7 separate regions of the Homo sapiens genome follow, and regions 1, 3, 4, 5, 6 and 7 are each linked to region 2. Evidence: promoter capture Hi-C in 16 types of primary human blood cells and fetal thymus (Javierre and others, 2016). All regions are on one chromosome and are shown on one strand. Each heading gives the region's core, a stretch centred on a gene start or on the middle of the fragment in contact. The rest is flanking DNA. Distances are from core to core; before and after follow the strand shown.

Region 1 (3,107 bases), core at 547-3,046, 760 kb after region 2:
AGTATATAATGAAATAATATACAGCTTTGAAAAATTAACTACATCTACAGGCAACAATATGGATACATCTCAAAGGCATAGTGTTAGGCTGGTAAACATAAAAGATGGCACACATAAATACACTGTGATTTGTATAGAGTTAAATTTACTTAAAGTTCAAAAAGAGCAAAATTAATCTATTGTGTTAGAAGTAAAGATAGCAGTTATCAGGCCGGGCACAGTGGCTCACGCCTGTAATCCCAGTACTTTGGGAGGGCGAGGCGGGTGGATCACGAGGTCAGGAGTTCAAGACCAGGCTGGCCAAGATGGTGAAACCCTGTCTCTACTAAAAATACAAAAATTAGCCAGGCGTGGTGGCATGTTCCTATAATCCCAGCTACTCGGGAGGCTGAGGCAGATAATTGCTTGAACCGGGGAGGCGGGGTGGCAGTGAGCCGAGATTGTGCCACTGCACTCCAGCCTGGGTGACAGAACGAGACTCCATCTCAAAAAAAAAAAAAAAAAGATAGTAGTTATCTTTGGGAAAGTCAAAGGAGTTAAGAAAAAAATGTAAGGAGTATGATCAATGATTCATGGAAAATTGAGTATGCATCTGTTTCTTCACTTCTCCCTCTTCAGTCCAGTTTCTGGCTCTATCACTCAACCGTGTCACTAAAATATCAAATGACTTACATGTTAATAAGTCTACTGGGTAATTTTCAGTCTTCATCTTTTCCTTTCAGCTTTATTTTTCACAATTAACTACCTAGTGGTAGGTAATAGTTAACACACATATGCTAGACACTAAGTGTTTTACATGTGTTAATTCATTTAATCCTAAGAACAACTATATAAAATACAGATTATTATTGCCCCCATTTTTAAATGAGGAAACTGAGGCAAAATGGATAAATGGCTTGCCTAGAATCATACAATTAGAAAGTGCCAGGGCCGGGCGTGGTGGCTCACGCCTGTAATCCCAGCACTTTGGGAGGCCAAGGCCAGTGGATCACCTGAGGCCAGGAGTTCAAGAGCAGCCTGGCCAACATGGTGAAACCCCATCTTTGCTAAAAATACAAAAATTAGCCGGGTGTGGTGGTACATGCCTGTAGTCACAGCTACTTGGGAGGCTGAGGCGGGAGAATTGCTTGAACCTGGGAGGTGGAGGCTGCAGTGAGCCAAGATCATGCCACTGCACTCCAGCCTGGGCGACAGAGCTAACTAGACTCCCATCTCAAAAAAAAAAAAAAAGACTCCCATCTCAAAAAAAAAAAAAAAAAGAAAGTGCCAGAGCAAGGATTTGAGCCCAAGCAATCTGGCTTCATAGTTCTCCATAGTTCATACTCTTAACCATAACAATACACTATATTGCCTTTTTTTCCCCTTAAAGTTGTTCAACAATACTACAAAATAGCTTGTGGTTTTTAAAATGCAATCAGCCGCCAGGCGTGGTGGCTCACACCTGTAATCCCAGCACTTTGGGAGGCCGAGGTGGGCGGATCACCTGAGGTTGGGAGTTCGAGACCACCCTGACCAACGTGGAGAAACCCCGTCTCTACTAAAAATACAAAATTAGCTGGGTGTGGTGGCCTGTAATCCCAGCTGCTCAGGAGGCTGAGGCAGAAGAATCGCTTGAACCCAGGAGGCAGAGGTTGCAGTGAGCCGCAGATGGCGCCATTGCACTCCAACCTGGGCAACAAGAGCGAAACTCCGTCTCAAAAAAAAAAAAATGCAATTAGCTTATGCATATGGTAACACCAAATGGTACAATATTGTTTATAATGAAAATAAAAAAACAGTTCTACTTCACAAAGGTACTAATCCCCAAAGTTACCATCTTTCAACTTTTGCCTTGCCACTATAAAACATGAGGATTTAACACACTTACATAAGCCCCTGCTCGATTCTCCTCCCAATTTCTGATATTTTTGTTGTTTACTTGGAAATTTTAAATAATTTAAGTAATTTGAACATTTACTTAGTATTTCACCAATTTTAGAAAGAGCTTCTTATATTGCCACTCTATAAAATGAGAATATATCATCCTACCCTTTGTTCTACCTTCCAACGGTTGTCTGCTTTTCTTTATTTTTACATTCAACCCTCTTATTAGAACTCCCATGTGTCCCCCACCAACACACACCATTTTTTTTTTTTTTTTCGAGACAAGATCTCACTCTTTTGTTCAGGCTATAGTGTAGTGCTGCGATCACGGCTCACTGCAGCCTTGACCTCCCAGGTTCAAGAGATCCTCCCACCTCAGCCACTCAAGTAGCTGGGACCAGAGGCATGAGCTGCCAAGCCTGGCAAATTTTTTTTTTTTGAGACGAAATCTCACTTTGTTACCAGGCTGGAATGCAATGATGCAATCTCGGCTCACTGCAACCTCCACCTCCCAGGTTCAAGCAATTCTCCTGCCTCAGCCTCCTAAGTAGCTGGGATTACAGGCACATGCCACCATGCCCAGCTAATTTTTGTATTTTTTTTTTAGTAGAGACGGGGTTTCACCATGTTGGCCAGCGTGGTCTCGATCTCTTGACCTCGTGATCCACCTGCCTCAGCCTCCCAAAGTGCTGGGATTACAGGCGTGAGCCACTGTGCCCGGCCGTGGCAAATTTTTTATTTGTTTCAATTTTTGTAGCGATGAGGTGTCCGTTGCCCAGGCTTGTCTTGGACTCCTGGGCTCAAGCTATACTCCTGCCTTGGCCTCCTCAAATTTCTTGCTTTTCTTTATGGTTTGTCACTAAACATGCATCCCATAGTTTTGCCTATTTTTAAAACTATATGTAGATGGAATCATATGCTACTTTCCGTCTTGCTTCTTTCATTCAATATTATGTTTTTAAGATTCATACAAGTTGAGAGTAGCTGTAGGTCATTTATTCTGTTATAGTATGTGTATTTCATTGAATGACTATATCACAATTTTTTATGCTATTGTTGATGAATTTTTCGGCTTCCAATTTGGGACTACTGTAAACATGGCTTTTATGAACATTTTTTTTTCTGGTGTGCATGTGCCAATTTATTGAGGGTATCATTTTAGGAATAGAATTTCTGAGTCATAGGATCTGCATATCTTCATTTGTTCCAAATATTGCCAAGTCATTTTCCAAACTCTTGTACCA
Region 2 (2,824 bases), core at 64-2,563:
CGGGGTACACACTACACGTTCATTTAAGGAAGCAAGGAGACCAAGAGACCCCACCCCCACAATTTGCAGATGGTGCCAAAGGTTGCAATTTGCAATCCCCTTTAAGTTCACGATTAATCGGTACTTTGCTCTACCAACGCCAACTCCTACCCCATTTCATCGATTAAGGGGTTTTACACTTTACAAGCAGTCGCGCTGTAAGTAAAAGATCTGATCACTGGAAGCCCAGTTCGGAAGAATCTAATTGCCAAACTGTCCCTCCACCCCCACCCCCACCCCCCTCTCACTGCCCTTGAATTGATGCAATGAATATTTTGGACATGTGGTGACGCGGTGACAAGAGCCAGGGCTGCGGCCACCACACACAGATGTACCTACGCACACCTATGTTTGGACAAATACAGTCCCACCACACACACGGTCTCACACACTCTGGATTCATATATGTACGCGAACCTGCGTTCTGCCATTGCCATCTGTCTACCAAGTTGCTACTATGCTTTCCACTTTCATGCAGCCTAATGCACTTTGGCTTTCTAAAAAAAAAAAAAAAAAAAAAAAACCTATAAACTAAAGCCAACTTAAACTGGGCTTCTGCTCCTAAACGCGTTTAATTGATGATTCACCTGAAAACCGCATGTTCTTCGCAAATCCAAAAGAAGAAATAGCTCTAAGTCTTCAGCCCCCCAAATTTGAAAAAAAAAATCATAATAAAACTTACTGATCCAACATAGATCAATTCTCAGGATCCAAAAATCATCCTCTCCTCCTCCTCCGGCCCCCGCCCCGGCAATGCCCAAGTTACTGGTGGGATAGTAACGCTGCGCTCAGCGGCTGCCTCCCTCCCTCCTCGCTACAGATCGAGAACCCAATCTTTTGGCGCCATATTAATGACGTATTATATTATTTCCACTAGGCAGCGACCTTCGGCATTAAATTACTCCCGAGAACTCCCGAGCAAAGCAACAAAACCATCAAATATGGCTGAGCCTCTCGGCTCGTCCTGCAGCCGCCGCCGCCGCCGCCGCCGTCGCCGCCGCGGGACCGGGACGCGCACACGGACCCACACGCGGACACGCGCGGACACACGCGCGGCGCGCCCACCCCGCGCGCCCCCCGCGGCCCGCGCGCGTACCTGCTGCGGAGGGGTTCGGCCGAGGCGCTGGGCTGGGCGCCGCTCGCTCGCTCGGAGCTGCATGAGTTCGGGCCGCGGCGGGCGGGGAGCCGGGCGGGCCCCTGCTCTCGCCGGCGCGCACACACCGGGCACTCGCGCACGGAGGCACTCTCGGTCTGGCGTTTGGCTTGTTATGGAGGAAGGACTATGTGAATCAAACTCATTTCTGGGTCACTGCTGCCACAGGGGGGAGCACTTTAATCCCTTGCCAAAACGAGAGGGTGGGGACGGGAGGGCGGAGGGAGCATGCGGGGAGCCCGCGGCGCTGGGGCTCGGTCCCTCGTTAACTCTTCGCAGCCCTAGCCGCAGCCGGCTCAGCCTGCGCCAGTGGGGGCTCGCAAAGAACGGCACTGTTCAGCTCTTAGTCTCTTTCCTTACTTCACCCACCTTGTGAGCCTAGAAATTCTTGAGGTGTCTCCAAGCAAGTGGGTTTTTAAATTAGCCCCTTCAAACTGCTGTCCCAGTTTCAACTCTTGTCTGACATCTAGAAATGGATTCTTTCAGAATAGTTTAAAATTACGTAGATTAAAATATGGCTATTAAGATGTGTCATTTGGGTGAAAGGTTTTATTTTTAGGCTGAGTGGCAAAATAGTTGTTTGTAGTAACAGTTTTAGGGAGTTGCACATTAGGATGACATTTTTAAATAGAGAGAATCCAATTCTGAATAACATCTTTACCTAAATTTGTATGGAAGTGATCATTGCAAATGAGCATTAATTCATTAGAAGATATTATTTATAAATTGACACCACTTTATGTTACACATTACTACAGAATTGGACATCTTCTCCCAAATATGAGGAGTGAGCCTAATGCTAAAACTAGAATTGCAGACTAGTATCAGATCAGTCATCGGAGATTCATTTGGGGGTATTTATGTGTAAAAAGGAGTGGTTACTGATTTTCTGCAGAAGACAAGCTTGCTTTTTCATATAGAGGGCAACATACTTCTTTCATGGATTCATCTAGGGAAATAGAGGGGTATATGACATTCAACTTCAATAAGAAAAAAGTACGGATTAAAAACTCCCATTCAGGCCGGGCGCGGTGGCTCACGCCTGTAATCCCAGCACTTTGGGAGGCCTAGGTGGGCGGATCACCTGAGGTCGGGAGTTCAAGACCAGCCTGACCAACATGGATAAACCCTGTCTCTACTAAAAAATACAAAATTAGCCGGGCATGGTGGTACATGCCTGTAACCCCAGCTACTGGGGAGGCTGAGGCAGGAGAATCGCTTGAACCCGGGAGGTGGAGGTTGTGATGAGCCGATAATGCGCCATTGTGGTCCAGCCTGGGCAATAAGAGCGAAACTCCGTCTCAAATAAATAAATAAATAAATAGGAACAGTGATCACTAATTACAAAATTGAATATCGAACCCAAAAGGCATATGTGTCCACCGGAAGAATCTTTCTGAATATATCAGGTTTGATTTCATGTAATCCCACACCAGCCCAACTACCCACATCCAGACCCACATCCAGAACGTTATAATCTGATAAATGCGACAAAACAAAACTAATTGAGCCTTTCAGTTATTTTTCAGAAAACAAAGTAAGCCAGTGGAAATCCTAAGTACTGTATATGTCCTCTCCTGTTTCGCTAATGAAGAGTAGAAAGACTCCCTGCCAGTCCTATTCATGTGTTCA
Region 3 (2,866 bases), core at 269-2,768, 940 kb after region 2:
CTTCTCACAAGAAATAATGGAAGGAAAAAGACAGTGAATTGACATCTTTAAGTGCTGATGAAGAAAGCCCCTGTCAATTCAGAATTCTATTATCTAACAAAAACAGTAATTTAGATAAATGAAAACAAGATAATTCATCATCCACTGACCTGCACTACAAGAAATGCCAAAGGAATTTTTTCACACTGTGTGGATTTGATAAGAAATAGAAACTCATATTGTCAGAAAGTAATCAAGAACATCAGAAATGGGAATTATGGGCTGGGCATGGTGGCTCATGTCTGTAATCCAATCACTTTGGGAGGCCGAGGCAGGCGGATCACTTGGGCCAGGAGTTCGAGACCAGCCTGGCCACCATGGTGAAATCCTGTCTCTACCAGAAATAAAAAATTAGCTGGGTGTGGTGGAGTGTGCCTGTAATCCCAGTTACTTGGGAGGCTGAGACACGAGAATCGCTTGAACCCAGGAGGTGGAGGTTGCAGTGAGCTGAGATCGCACCACCACACTCCAGCCTGGGTGACAGAGTGAAACCCTGTCTCAAAAAAGAAAAAAAAAGAAAGAAAGAAATGGGAACTATGTAGATAAATATAAAGAACTATTATTTTGTTTCTTTATTTCTTTAAAATACACATCAGTAAATAATGTGAAAATTAAAATATTTTATTTGGCCAGTTGTATATCTTCTTCCCTTTTAAAAAAATATGAGACAGGGTCTTACTATGTTGCCCAGTTTCATTTCAAACTCCTAGGCTCAAGTGAACCTCCTGCCTCAGCCTCCGAAGTAGCTGGGACTAGAGGTGCGCTTGGCTGTGTATCTTATTTTGAGAAGTGATTTTTCAGGTCATTGGCCCATTTTTTAATAAAATTACTTCTTTCTTGCTATCAAGTTGAGTTCTTTATTTTGATATTAACCCTTTATCAGATGTATGGTTTGCAAATATTTTCTCCCAAGTCATGGGTAGTCTCTTCACTCAGTTGATTGTTTCCTTGCCTGTGCAGAAGCATTTTGGTTTGACACAATCTCAGTTGCCAATTTTTGCTTTTGTTGCCTGTGCTTTTGGGGTCATATTTTAAAAAAATCATCGCCTAGACAAATATCATGGAGCTTATCCTTTATATTTTCTTCTAATAGTCTTACAGTTTCAGGTCTTGTGTTTAAATCTTTGATCCATTCTGTGTTGATTTTTGTATATCAGCTGACATAAGGGTTCACTCTCATTCTGCTGCATGTGGAGGTCTAGTTTTGACAACACCCTTTATTGAAGAGGCTGTCCTTTCCATATTGTGTGTTCTTGGCACTTTTGTTGAAGATCAATTGCCTAAATGTATGGATTTATTTTGGGGCTCTCTATTCTGTTCCATTTGTCTATATGTCTGTTTTTATGTCAGTACCATGTTGTTTTAATTACTATAGCTTTATAAATTATTTTGAAATCAGGTAGTATAATGCCTCCAGCTTTCTTCTTTTTGCTCAAGATTGCTTTGGCTACTCAAGGTCTTTTGTAATTCCAGGTAAATTTTAGGATTGCTTTTTCTATTTCTGTGAAAAATGCCATTACAATTTTGATAGGGACTTCCCTGAATCTGTGGATTGCTTTGTGTAGTATGGTGTATTAGTCTGTTTTCACACTGCTATAAAGAACTACCTGAGACTGGGTAATTTATGCAGAAAAGAAGTTTAATTGACCCACAGTTCTTCAGGCGTAACAGGAAGCATGACAGAGAAATGACCATAGTTCAGATGTCAGGGATTAGCACGGGATTGTGAGGGATGATGGCTCCAGTCCTGAAAAGCCCAACAGTGGCGCCTTTGGAGGGGGCATAGCCATGTTTCCCTCTCTGGTGGTAGTGGAGGGGTCTGCAGTGGGGATGGCTGTTGGTTACCTCAGTTGCTGGTGTCCTCTATAGAGCAGGTGAGTGGGGACCACAGTAGCCCATGCTGTGCGGCTGATACTAATAGCTCCTACCCTTGTCTTTTGTTCCTGTCTCTAGATGTCTCAGGTATACTGCTGTCCTTTGACTGTTCCACATTGGTTATTCTCCATTTTTCTCCTCCACTGTGTTACCACAAGTTCTTAAATGGGCCCTTGATCCCTCCCAAAGTTATTATCATTTATGGATAACTATTATTATCCATAACAATACTCTGCCATCTTGCTAACATCACTGTCCTCTCCAATTCATTTAATAATTATAAGATTATTTATTTGTTTATTTATTTTGAGACAGAGTCTCGCTCTGTCGCCCAGGCTGGAGTGCAATGGCCTGATCACGGCTCACTGCCACCTCTGCCTCCTGGGTTCAAGGGCTTCTCCTGCCTCAGCCTCCCAAGCAGTTGGGATTACAGGCGCATACCACCACCACTGGCCAATTTTTGTGTTTTTAGTAGAGACGGGGTTTTGCCATGTTGGCCAGGCTGGTCTCGAACTCCTGACCTCAGGTGACCTGCCTATCTCATCCTCCCAAAGTGCTGGGATTACAGGCGTGAGCCGCTGCACCAGCTGACATCTATACAATTTTATTTATTATTATTATTATTATTTAGAAAAAGTCTTGTCTGTTGCCCAGGCTGGAGTGCAGTGGCACGATCTGAGCTCACCGCAACCTCTGCCTCCCACATTCAAGTGATTCTCCTGCCTCAGCCTCCTGAGTAGCTGGGATTACAGGTGCCAACCACCATGCCCGGCTAATTTTTGTTTTTTTAGTAGAGACAGGGTTTCACCATGTTGGCCAGGCGGTCTTGAACTCCTTATCTCAGGTGATCCACCCACCTTGGCCTCCCAGAGTGCTGGGATTACAGGCGTGAGCCACTGCACCCGGCTGACATCTGTGCAATTTTAAAGATACTTCCTTATAGGATGCTTTG
Region 4 (2,895 bases), core at 304-2,803, 710 kb after region 2:
TAAGGACCAAGGGTGTTCAAAAGGGTTAAAGTTTGAAGGATCAGGTTTAAAATAGGTTGACTAATTGAGGGGGAGGGGAAGGAGAAAATACACAGTAACATCGTTAGCAATACTTTCAGGGGTTTCCAAGGTTAGACATTTATGAAGGTTTTACAAAATAGAAAAACATCATGGAATGCTGTCTGAGCCTCAAGCAACTACAGATTGTCTGTTTTTAGTACTCTGTTTTTCAGAGAAGTTTTAGGTACAAAGGAAATTTGAGCAGAAAGTACAAATTGTTCATCAAATGAGCAATTACCTCTAAGATGAGATTAAGGTTTGTAGTGAGAGCCTGAACACGCTGAAAACCAGCAATCAGGGAAATAGGCAAGAAACCTTGTTCATCCATCTTTCCCCGAAGAAAGAAGTCTCGTTCCAAATTTTCTACACTGAAGTAATATTCACTGAAAAGAGAAATCAGAATTTCATCCATTTATTTAGTAGGAAATAAATATTTCTATTGCTCCCACATTAACTGTGAAAACCAATCATTAACATGAAAATATTGTAATTTGGTTAACAATATGTATAGCTCTAATACAACACAGATAGGGTAAACATATAAGATAGCAAAAAACTCTACTGAATTAATAATTTCTCTTAAACTTAAAATATTATTTTCCAAAAAATTAATAACTTCTATTTAGATCAGTTTCACTAAATATAAAGAATTAAGCTGCTCATTTTACCTTAAAATAGTTCAATAATTTTTTTTAATGAGTTAATTAGATGAAAATCTTTACAAAGCCACTTCTACTTGTTTCATTTAAGCATTAGATAACAAAGCTAATCCCATGTTAGCATAATGCCTTCCACCTTTTTCCCAGTCGCTGAGAAGAGTGGTATACTGGAAATATCCTTTGTCAAATTCACATACAGAAAAGTAGTTCATTTTGTTTTCTAAGTTGACAAAGTACTGCCATGTTTAATACTTCTGAAGCCTAGTAACCAGCACAATTCTTAGTTAAAAACTCAGTGAACATGGCCAGGCGCGGTGGCTGATGCCTGTAATCCCAGCACTTGGGGAGGCTGAGATGGGTGGATCCCCTGAGGTCGGCAGTTCAAGATCAGCCTGACCAACATGCAGAAAACCTGTCTCTACTAAAAACACAAAATTATCCGGGTGTGGTAGCGCATGCCTGTAATCCCAGCTACTCAGGAGGCTGAGGCAGGAGAATCCCTTGAACCCGGGCAGCAAACATTGCAGTGAGCCAAGATCGCGTCATTGCACTCCAGCCTGGGCAACAAGAGCAAAACTCCATCTCAAAAAAAAACAAAACAAAACAAAAAAAACTTAGTGAACACACAGGCATATGTGCACATATATATTTTGAACGATTCAAGTTCTCCATGCTTCTTTCTTTGATAGACAGACCATAAGACATTAAGGGTGGCCCGGTGAGGTGGCTCACGCCTGTAACCCCAGCACCTTCGGAGGCTGAGGTGGGTGGATCGCTTGAGGTCAGGAGTTTAAGACCAGCGTAACCAATATGGGGAAACCCCATCTCTACTAAAATACAAAAACTAGCTGGGCATGGTGGCGGGTGCCTGTAATCCCAGCTACTCGGGAAGCTGAGGCAGGAGAATCAATTGCACCCAGGAGGCAGAGGTTGCAGTGAACAGGGATGGTGCCACTATACTCCAGCCTGGGCGAGAGCAAGACTGTCTAAAAACAATAATAAAAGACGTTAGCCAGGCATGGTGGCTCACGCCTGTAATCCCAGCACTTTGGGAGGCTGAGGCGGGCAGATCACAAGGTCAGGAGATCGAGACCATCCTGGCTAACATGGTGAAACTCCGTCTCTACTAAAAATACAAAAAATTAGCCGGGTGTGGTGGCAGGCGCCTGTAGTCCCAGCTACTCGGGAGGTTGAGGCAGGAGAATGGCGTGAACCTGGGAGGCGGAGCTTTCAGTGAGCCAAGATTACACCACTGCACTCCAGCCTGGGCGACAGAGCGAGACTCCATCTCAAACAGAAAAAAAAAAAAGAAAGACATTAAGGGTGAACAGAATATAGCTAAAGAAGGAATATCCTTGACACCATGAGGCACATGGAAGCAAAAATATAGAAGATGATTAGATGTTTTATCTTCTCTTGAAAAACACAAACCCACTTAACCTTTCCGAGAGAAATGTAAATGGATGAACTGTCAGTATGATCAGTAACTACAAATCCCAAGATATAAAGATAATATTCACAATACATTTAATAATAGCCTTTGAGAAATACATGTTTATCCACACCATAGGAAAGGTTAAAGAGAGAGAAATACATGTTTAAATTATAGCCTCCATAGGCCGGGCGCGGTGGCTCACGCCTGTAATCCCAGCACTTTGGGAGGCCGAGGCGGGCGGATCACGAGGTCAGAAGATCGAGACCATCCTGGCTAACACGGTGAAACCCTGTCTCTACTAAAAATACAAAAAATTAGCCGGGCAAGGTGGCGGGCGCCTGTAGTGCCAGCTACGTGGGAGGCTGAGGCAGGAGAATGGTGTGAACCCGGGAGGCGGAGCTTGCAGTGAGCTGAGATCGTGCCACTGCACTCCAGCCTGGGCAACAGAGCGAGACTCCGTCTCAAAAAAAAAAAAAAAAAAATTATAGCCTCCATATATGTAAATGAGAGTATGAGGATTTTAAAGACAGAGAAGAAGACAAACGGGAAAATATAGAGAAGAATGATACAAAAGAAATACATAACATCAATGATGATGGGGCCTACAGTTTAATAATCCCACACTATTTCCAAATCACAGAGAAAGTTTTCAAACATGGAATACAAGTTATGAGAAAACAAACCAGCTCACATTTTGGGGTATAAAACTCAGTGACTAAAGATGCCCTTGAAGTATATGGG
Region 5 (3,007 bases), core at 384-2,883, 860 kb after region 2:
TGGCTGGGATTACAGGCATGCGCTACCATGCCCAGCTAATTTTTGTATTTTTTTTTTGCAGAGAGGGGTTTCTCCATGCTGGCCAGGCTGGTCTCAAACTCCTGGCCTCAAGTGATTCACCCACCTCGGCCTTCCAGAGTTCTGGGATTACAGGCGTGAGACACTGTGCCCAGCCTCAGTAAAGCCATTTTGAAGAACAGGCTTTATAGAATTTCTTGATTTGCCCAACATTTATTTATTCATTTTTAATTTTTTTTTGAGATGGAGTCAAGCTCTGTCACCCATGCTGGAGTGCAGTGGTGCGATGTTGGCTCACTACAACCTACTCCGCCTCCTGGGTTCAAGCAATTCTTCTACCTCAGCTTCCTAAGTAGCTGGGATTACAGGCATGTGCCACCATGCCCGGCTAATTTTTATATTTTTAGTAGAGACAGGGTTTCACCATGTTGGCCAGGCCGGTCTCAAACTCCTGACCTTAGGTAATCTGCCTGCCTCAGCCTCCCAAAGTGCTGGGATTACAGGCATAAGTCACTGCTGGCTGCATTTGCCTAACATTTAAAATTGACAGATAGTGTTGGAGTTAATCATTATAGTTTTCATGTAGTAAAGGCTAGCAGAAATAGTGAATTTTCTTTTAAGGTATGGCCATCTTGAAGTATTCTGGTTTTCTATAGCCCCCCTGTAGATGATCATTTTCCTTATTCCTGCTCTTCCCTTCAGTCAATTATCTCCTCCAAACAACACAGGATAGAAGCCTAGCACTTCCTGTCTAACAAAATAGCCTTTCCTCCATTCATTTCTGCTATAAAAACTTAACAAAGCTTTTGGTTATTTCCATTTACAGTAAAAGCACATGAGTATGGAGAAGTAGATCCTCTGCTTTTTTGTATTTGTTATTATGATGAGGGACTGTAATTGTATGTTCTTTTAGTCTTTATTTTTCTTCTGATAATTAAAATCTCATTGCCTCATAAATTAGGCATTTGTATGCATAGATTTTAGGTTCAGAATATTTTAAAATCCATGCCACGGTTCAGAAAATTGTATCTGTAATAATGATTAAATTATTATAAGTATAAATAACCTAGTTTGCTTCTTCACAGGGTTTTCTGTAGTGATGATGTCCATATGGCCATATCTCCAAAAGGTTTGTACATTTCAATCTATTTTTCCCTTATAGCTACAGTAGTAGTAACTCTTACGTAGTTAAGCATTTTCTAAAGAGTCTCTTTGGTATTCTATGGTTTAATCTTTACAAGAATAATGAGATAATAGTTCCTTAAAAGAGGCTTATAAGTAATGTGACCATATGCTTTATTGTGCAAGCCAGAACACTTTTGTAGTGAAGAGACTGCTACGTAAGGAAAAATAGGATCATACCCAGATAGTCCCAGGCAAAGGTAGATGTATGGTCACCTACTCAGAAGCCACATTCATATTCCATCATTACCTCTTCCCTAATAAAAAGGAAACTAGTAATAGTCTGAATTCCTAAAGTGTGTAAATGATATTTTTGTGGAATAATTTAACGCTTTTCCCATAAAATTAATTTGGGCTATCAGGTAACATTGTAAAGACTAGAACATATGTATTTTTTGATGCTGTTATTACTAGAAGGGGAAGAGGGGGTGACATGAATATGTAAGTTTGTTAGGTAGCTTAACATCAGTTGATCATCAGGTCCTGTCAGTTCTATCTTAAATCTCCAGGAAGAAACTTAACTAAAAATCAGTATATAAGTTGGTTACATAATTCATCTATAACAATGTTTTAGTAAAGGTTCTTAAAGAGTTCCTCTGTATTTCCTAACCTACTCCTTAACCTACTGCTATCTGATTAACTTTTCTGCTGTCCTGAAACTGCTCTTGTAAGGTTTCCAATTACTTAATTGTTGATCACGAAATACTTTTCAGTCCTTATTTTAGGTGACACCTGGATAGGATTTGACATTGTTGTCCTCTCCTTACTTCCTGAAACCACCTGTATTAGTCTGTTTTCTGTTGCTTATAACAGAATACCCTAAACCAGATAATTTATTTTAAAAAAGGAATTTATTTCTTACCGTTACAGAGGCTGAGAAGTCCTAGTTTGAGAGACCACATCTGGTGAGGGCCTTCTTGCTGGTGGGGACTCTCCGAAGAGTCCCAAGACAGTGTAGGGCATCACATGATGAAGGGGCTGAGCATGCTAGCTCAGGTCTCTCTTCCTTCTCTTATAAAGCCACCAGTTCCACTCCATGATAACCCATTAATACATAAATGGATTCATTCATGAGGGCACAGCCTTCATGATCCAATTGTTAGTTGGCAGATCTGTGTCTGTACAGGTCTGCAGCAACCTCAATTCTTGCCTCCTGAAAGAAATAATTCAAGTAAAGGACATAATGCAGAAGGAGAAACTGAGGCAAGTTGTAGAGCAGGAGTTAAAATTTATTAAAAAGCTTTAGAGCAAGAATGAAAGGAAGGAAAAGAAGGAAAGTACACTTGGAAGAGGGCCAAGTGGGCAACTTGAAAGACAAGCCTGCGGTTTGACCTTTTGACTTGGGATTTCATACACTGGCATAATTTTGGGGTCTTGCATTACTTCTCCCCACTCACCCCACCCCTGAGATCGTATCAGGAAGCTGCTAATTACCAGGTGTTTTCTATTTATTAGGAGGCTGCCTTTTCCTAGCACTAGCTGTGACCAATAATTACTTTAGAGAGCGTTAACAACCGCCTGACCATCACCTAACAGTCTCTCCACACTCCCCATGTGAGGGGCAGGGGAGACCTCTCCTGCCCTGTTCATACCCAACTAGCTACCTAATGTAACACAGTCACTTCTTAAAGGTCCTACCTTTCAATATTTTAATAATATTAATTTAAATATTAATTTCCAAAAAATGAAATTTGGGGGACACATTCAAACCATGGCACCACCTCTTAGCTTCTGTGACATTTCTCTATCCTGGCTTTCCTCTTAACTCTAATGACTTATTCTTAAATTCTTTTGTGTATTCTTCCTT
Region 6 (3,079 bases), core at 488-2,987, 840 kb after region 2:
TTTATGAGATATAAGGAAAGATTCTTCTTGCCGCTTTGCCATTTTTTCCCATAAGAAGCCTGGTGGTAAAGAGCACAGGCTTAGGATCAGGAGTCCTGCATTTCTTGAATTCTAGCTCTGTTGCTTGTTAGTAGTATGATCCTAGGCAAGTTACTTAATCTCCCTGCCTTCCATTTCCTTGTACACATGAGACAATTCCCCCCTCAGAGGATTGTTGTAAGGATGAGATGAAGTAATTCAATGAGCATTCATCCAACATATATTTATCTAGGAGCCATTCTGCTTACTGCTATACTGGTTAAAAATCCCCTTGTCCACTATATATGTGCCATACATTGCTAGCCCCCAGGAATTAAAAAAGACAATATAATAAAGCGACATTATGGCAAGAAAATACTAACTTTTCTACCTATGTGTCTTTTTGGAACCAATAATACAAATCTGACTTGTTTTTGTGAGCTGTTACAAATGAATCTGCAAGACTGAATCCAAGTACAAAATATCAGGTCTTGATTTAGAAGATATTTCTGAATAGCACGTTTCAAGGTTTTTGGTTTTTTTTTTTTTTTTGAGACAGAATCTCACTCTGTTGCCCAGGCTGGAGTGCAGTGGCGTGATCTCGGCTCACTGCAGCCTCCGCCTCCCGGGTTCAAGGGATTCTCCTGCCTCAGCCTCCCGAGTAGCTGGGACTATAGGCGCCCGCCACCACGCCCGGCTTTTTTTTTTTTTTTTTTTTTTTTTTTTTTTTTTTTGTATTTTTAGTAGAGACGGGGTTTCACCGTGTTAGCCAGGATGGTCTCGATCTCCTGACCTCGTGATCCGCCCGCCTTGGCCTCCCAAGGTGCTGGGATTACAGGCATGAACCATCGCACCCAGACCGCACGTTTCAAGTTTAGGTGTTCACCAGTGAACTGCGCCTGGCTGATACACACAAGGTCACAAATGACACAAAGATCAGAAGTGATGGCATATACCATACATGACTGTGTAACTAGTATAGGACCTAGCATAGGGTAAATGCTCATAAATATTAATTTAAAAAAATTAAGTTTGGTTTCCAACTTTGCCACTTCCACACAGAGTGACTCTGGGTTAACTTGTCTGGATCTTAATTTTCAGTAAACTAGCAATGTGTCTGCTTCGCCTATCTCATAGGATACTTGTGATCAAATGAAATTACATGACAATGTATCTGGCGCTAATAAAACGGTAATTTATGAGACACAGAATGACTACTGACGCCAGCTAGCCTACAAGCCTAATAGTAGAGATAAGATGTTAATACATAACCACCAAGAAATAAACATGGAGATCTAGTGAAAACCCATGACATGTTTTCTAAAAATGTCATCTTCCTTGTGACGAAAGGAGCTGGTCATTGCTAGGCAGGTGCTGTACCTTTTTCAACTCCCACGTTTCAGCAGCAGGCTCTGCTGAGTGACATTTTGCAAGGCTGAGGCCCCCGTAGGCGCAGGCGCCGTTGGGGTGCGCATCCGGGGACCTGCAGGTTACAAGCAGCAGATCCCACCTTCAGTCCTGGCTCTGACAAGCCCTCCAGGTAAGGCGCCTTTGCATTTAGCCGAGCTAGAGAAGAGAGCTGGAAGCCACCTCTACCTTTCACGGGGGGAAGGGACTGCCCGCGCGCTCGCCCCCATTATCTCAGCCCTCCGAAGCGCGCCACGGACTCCAGCCTTGTCTCTCACCCCCAGCCTCACCCCGCGTCCCTGACCCGCGAGTCTCCCGCCCAGCTCCGCGTCCCCGGTCCCTGCCTCCAGGCGCGTACACGGCGCGCTAAGAGGCGCGGGGAGCTCTTAGCGCACCTACTACTTAACCGGACCGGCTACTTACTGGCCGCCAGGTGGAAGCCTGCGATCGAGCTGGCCGGGCCTCCCAGCACCGCCGCTCTCCAGGCTCCCTTTCCAGGACTCAACTTTGGTCCCAGCCCCAATCGCAGCTCCGGTAACCTTTCCAGGAACCGAAATGCTAGATACAGCGGAAGGAGAAACGGAGGGAGGAAGACAAACCCGGAGCAGGGCGGCGCGGCAGTTTGGACACGCCCCGAGCTCTCCTGGGCTCTCAGTCCCCGTCAGGATGGGAGGCGCGTGCCGAGGGAGGAGGCTGAGGACACAGCCTCCTTTCGCCCTGCGCTGCCCGGCCTTCCGCGTGACCCCGCCTATGACCTCGGGGCGTTCCGCCTACGTCTGACCGTCAGGTGCGCACGCGCACTTACAGGCTTGTTTTGCCAGCTTCACGCCACCCGGGATGGGAGAAAGCAGGTGTCGCGAGAGTTGGGCGCAAGACGCCTTGTAGGGAGTGTAACTATGGCCGGCCTGCGGAACGAAAGTGAACAGGAGCCGCTCTTAGGCGACACACCTGGAAGCAGGTGAGCGGATCCTGGTGGAGGGACCCCTCAGTCTCCTGCGCTGTTGGGACTGGTTCCTTTCCGGGCGTCACCCGCACTGGGACAAACCCTCGCTGCCAGAGGGGTTCCAGCGCGGTGGGAGCCGGTGGCTGGGTTGTGTGAGCCGAGGAGATTCGCTCCCAACGTAGGAGAAAGGGCGTCTGGCCGCACCGTGCGGTGATGAGCCCGTGGGTTCGAGTGACGGGGCTGGAGAAACCCAGGCTGCTGCTTTGCCTGTTGCAGCACCCAAGCTGAGAGGTGACAGCGTGCTGGCAGTCCTCACAGCCCTTGCTCGCTCTCCAGGCCTCCTCTGCCTGGGCTCCCACTTTGGCGGCACTTGAGGAGCCCTTCAGCCCACCGCTGCACTGTGGGAGCCCCTTTCTGGGCTGGCCAAGGTGGGAGCCGGCTCCCTCAGCTTGCAGGGAGGTGTGGTGGGAGAGGCGTGAGCGGGAACCGGGGCTGCGCGCCGCGCTTGCGGGCCAGCTGGAGTTCCGAGTGGGCGTGGGCTTGGCGGGCCCCGCACTGGGAGCAGCAGGCCGGCCCTGCCGGCCCCGGGCAATGAGGGGCTTAGCACCCGGGCCAGCGGCTGCGGAGGGTGTGCTGGGTCCCCCAGCAGTGCCAGCCCACTGGCGCTGCGCTCGATTTCTCGCCGGGCCTTAGCTGCCTTCCCGCGGGGCA
Region 7 (3,049 bases), core at 320-2,819, 740 kb after region 2:
TCTCCAAATCAAGAAGTAAGAAATATTAACAGTGTTGCCGGGCGGGGTGGCTCACGCCTGTAATCCCAGCACTTTGGGAGGCCGAGGTGGGTGGATCACCTGAGGTCAGGAGTTCGAGACCGGCCTGACCAACATGGAGAAACCCCGTCTCTACTAAAAATACAAAATCAGCCGGGCACAGTGGCACATGCCTGTAATCCCAGATACTCAGGAGGCTGAGGCAGGAGAATCGCTTGAACCTGGGAGGCAGAGGATGCGGTAAGCTGAGATCTTGCCATTCCACTCCAGCCTGGGCAACAAGAGCAAAACTCCACCACAAAAAACAAAAAAAAACACAGCGTATTACACTGAACTGACAGAACAATCCTCTCATTAACAGAATATAGGCTGGGCCTGGTGGCTCACACCTGTAATCCCAGCACTTCGGGAGGCCAAGATGGGCGGATCACTGGAGTCAGGAGTTTGAGACCAGCCTGGCCAACATGGTGAAACCCCATCTCTACTAAAAATAGAAAAATTAGCCCAGTGTGGTAGCACATGCCCATAGTCCCAGCTACTCAGAAGGCTGAGGCAGGAGAATCGCTTGAACCTGGGAGGTGGAGGTTGCAGTGAGCCTAGATTGCACCACTGCACTCCAGCTGGGGCGACAGAGCTAGACTCTGTCCAAAAAAAAAAAAAAAAAAAAAAAAAAAAAAAAAAAAACGACAACAATATAACAGGAGAAAATTACAAATACAACTTTTTTTTTTTTGAGACAGAGTCTCTTTATTTCTCTCATGCTGTTTGCTGTTGGTAAGAGTATGAGGTAGTATTTCTTTCTTTCTTTCTTTTTTTTTTTTTTTTTTTTTTTTTTTTTGAGACGGAATCTTCTCACTCTGTCGCCCAGGCTGGAGTGCAGTGGCGCAATCTTGGCTCACTGCAACCTCCCCCTCCGGGGTTCAAGCCATTCTCCTGCCTCAGCCTCCCAAGCAGCTGGGATTACAGGCGCCTGCCACCATGCCTGGCTAATTTTTTTGTATTTTTAGGAGAGACAGGGTTTCACCATTTTAGCCAGGCTGGTCTCAAACTCCTGACCTCAAGTAATCCGCCCACCTCGGCCTCCCAAAGTGCCAGGATTACAGGCATGAGCCACGGCGCCCAGCCAAGGTAGTATATCTTTCAAGGGTAATCTGTCATCTAAAATGTATATAACTTTTAATAAAAGAATTCCATTTTCAGGAAATTATCTAGGAATCAAGAAAAGGTACAAAGATGTCCATATAGGATGTTCAGTGCAACTTTGTTGATAATCCTATTTAAACAGTCTCTACGTAATAATACACAGAATACTATATAACTTTTAGAAATCAGACAAAGCTGTATATGTATTGACATGGAAAGAAGTCCACCAGGTTTTAAATATAATTTTATATATACAGGCCAGGCTCAGTGGCTCACACCTGTAATCCAAACAGCTTTGGGAGGCCAAGGCAGGCAGATCTCTTGAGGCCAGGAGTTCAAGACCAGCCTGGCCAAAATGACGAAACCCCATCTCTACTAAAAAAACAAAAATTAACCAGGTGTGGTGGCGCATGCCTGTAATCCCAGCTACTTAGGAGGCTGAGGCAGGAGAATCACTTGAATCCAGGAGGTGAAAGTTGCAGTGAGCCGAGACTGCACCACTGCACTCCAGCCTGGGCAACAGAGTGAGACTCTGATTAAAAAAAAAAAAATTATATATACGTACAGATTACAAGTAAAAGAAGCCTAAGAAAGGAAATTTTTCATTTTCTCATGTTTTAACATGGAGGAAATCATGCTGCATGTCATTAGAGAACACCTAAGACTGAAATAGCAAGCCAGTTGAGGAAATTGTTTTAAATTTAAAAATTTAAAACATATCTCCATTTTTCAAACATCATTAGTAAGACAGACACTATATACCAGTACATCTTTTTTGAGCATTATTTCACTATCTTTAAAATGTTACTCTTAGGCCGGGCACAGTGGCTCACGCCTATAATCCCACCACTTTGGGAGGCCAACGCAGGCAGATTACCTGAGGTCAGGAGTTTGAGAGCAGCCTGGCCAACATGGCAAAACCCCGTCTCTACTAAAAAACACAAAAATTAGCCAGGCATAGCAGCGGGTGCCTGTTATCCTAGCTACTCTGGAGGCTGAGGCACGAGAATCGCTTGAACCCAGGAGGTAGAGGTTGCAGTGAGCCGAGATCGCACCACCACACTCCAGCCTGAGGAACAGAGCGAGACTCCATCTCAAATAAATAAATAAAGTAAAAATAAATAAATAATAAAACGTTATCCTTAAACCCTGGGACCTACAAGGAAATAACTGTAAATAGTTAAAGAAAATAATATATTTTTAAGGGCTAGGATACTTTAAACAAAAGCTACAACACAGCAGAGCCTATTTCACTCAGCTTAATTCTTATGACCATAATCTTTTGGCAAAATTTTAATTAAGAAAATGCACTGATGATATCAATATTTCACATCTTATCATATTTAAGGGAAAATGTGGTAAAAATTAGTGCTTTTTAAAATGTGAAAGAATGGCCAGGCGCGGTGGCTCATGCCTGTAATCCCAGCACTTTGGGAGGCTGAGGCAGGTGGATCACCTGAGGTCAGGAGTTCAAGACCAGCCTGGCCAACATGGTGAAACCCCATCTCTACTAAAAATATAAAAACTAACTGGGCGTGGTGGTAGACGCCTGTAATCCCAGCTACTCGGGAGGCTGAGGCAGAAGAATTGCTTGAACCCAGGAGACGGAGGTTGCAGTGAGCCGACACAGTGCCACTGCCCTCCAGCCTTGGCGACAGAGTGAGACTGTCTCAAAAAAAAAAAAAAAAAAAATTGTGAAAGAAGACAATTCTCAAACTCTAATAGTGGGAGTATCAGTTTATACAGTTACTTTAAAAAGCAACTTGTAAAGGCCAGTGCGGTGGCTCACGCCTGTAATCCCAGCACTTTGGGAGGCCGAGGTGGCGGATCACGAGGTCAGGAGATCGAGACCATCCTGGCTAACACAGTGAAACTCCGTCTCCATTAA

Evidence for each region. Contacts are between HindIII fragments. The CHiCAGO score rates a contact against its expected background, and 5 or more counts as called.
Region 1: a fragment that was not itself captured here is called in contact with the fragment with the promoter of JADE1 in region 2 in 1 of 17 cell types (activated CD4 T cells); the score reaches 5.8 in activated CD4 T cells.
Region 3: a contact is called between a fragment that was not itself captured here and the fragment with the promoter of JADE1 in region 2, in 1 of 17 cell types (non-activated CD4 T cells). The highest score is 7.0, in non-activated CD4 T cells.
Region 4: a contact is called between a fragment that was not itself captured here and the fragment with the promoter of JADE1 in region 2, in 1 of 17 cell types (activated CD4 T cells). The highest score is 7.0, in activated CD4 T cells.
Region 5: a contact is called between a fragment that was not itself captured here and the fragment with the promoter of JADE1 in region 2, in 1 of 17 cell types (activated CD4 T cells). The highest score is 6.3, in activated CD4 T cells.
Region 6: a fragment that was not itself captured here is called in contact with the fragment with the promoter of JADE1 in region 2 in 9 of 17 cell types (activated CD4 T cells, total CD8 T cells, non-activated CD4 T cells and 6 more); the score reaches 13.2 in activated CD4 T cells.
Region 7: a fragment that was not itself captured here is called in contact with the fragment with the promoter of JADE1 in region 2 in 2 of 17 cell types (total CD4 T cells and activated CD4 T cells); the score reaches 5.5 in total CD4 T cells.

The regions. Positions count from the first base shown.
Region 1 is chr4:128,049,963-128,053,069 of GRCh38, reverse strand. No RefSeq gene overlaps it. Among named protein-coding and RNA genes, the nearest start is that of LARP1B, 9.8 kb to the left of the region's middle. RefSeq lists an enhancer at 210-379. The HindIII fragment of the contact is 4,093 bases long and covers 1-3,107 here.
Region 2 is chr4:128,808,189-128,811,012 of GRCh38, reverse strand. JADE1 (jade family PHD finger 1) reads right to left here and starts at 1,313. Exons shown (of 11, transcript NM_199320.4): 1 at 1,136-1,313. RefSeq lists silencers at 381-500, 1,011-1,490 and an enhancer at 801-910. The HindIII fragment of the contact is 6,052 bases long and covers 1-2,097 here.
Region 3 is chr4:127,872,108-127,874,973 of GRCh38, reverse strand. No RefSeq gene overlaps it. Among named protein-coding and RNA genes, the nearest start is that of PLK4, 7.4 kb to the left of the region's middle. The HindIII fragment of the contact is 9,011 bases long and covers 1-2,866 here.
Region 4 is chr4:128,095,734-128,098,628 of GRCh38, reverse strand. LARP1B (La ribonucleoprotein 1B) reads right to left here. Exons shown (of 20, transcript NM_018078.4): 8 at 299-443. Among named protein-coding and RNA genes, the nearest start is that of LARP1B, 36 kb to the right of the region's middle. The HindIII fragment of the contact is 9,900 bases long and covers 1-2,895 here.
Region 5 is chr4:127,947,944-127,950,950 of GRCh38, reverse strand. It overlaps MFSD8 (major facilitator superfamily domain containing 8), which reads left to right. Exons shown (of 12, transcript NM_001371596.2): 3 at 1,104-1,147. Among named protein-coding and RNA genes, the nearest start is that of MFSD8, 16 kb to the left of the region's middle. The HindIII fragment of the contact is 1,619 bases long and covers 824-2,442 here.
Region 6 is chr4:127,964,376-127,967,454 of GRCh38, reverse strand. It overlaps MFSD8 (major facilitator superfamily domain containing 8), which reads left to right and starts at 2,282. Exons shown (of 12, transcript NM_001371596.2): 1 at 2,282-2,383. The coding sequence starts at 2,322. It overlaps ABHD18 (abhydrolase domain containing 18), which reads right to left and starts at 2,049. Exons shown (of 13, transcript NM_001358451.3): 1 at 1,849-2,049. RefSeq lists enhancers at 170-669, 670-1,171, 1,850-2,465, 2,056-2,475 and silencers at 1,566-1,795, 2,916-2,965, 2,976-3,079. The HindIII fragment of the contact is 3,933 bases long and covers 1-3,079 here.
Region 7 is chr4:128,071,226-128,074,274 of GRCh38, reverse strand. All of the region lies in intron 1 of LARP1B (La ribonucleoprotein 1B), which reads right to left. Among named protein-coding and RNA genes, the nearest start is that of LARP1B, 11 kb to the right of the region's middle. The HindIII fragment of the contact is 5,579 bases long and covers 1-3,049 here.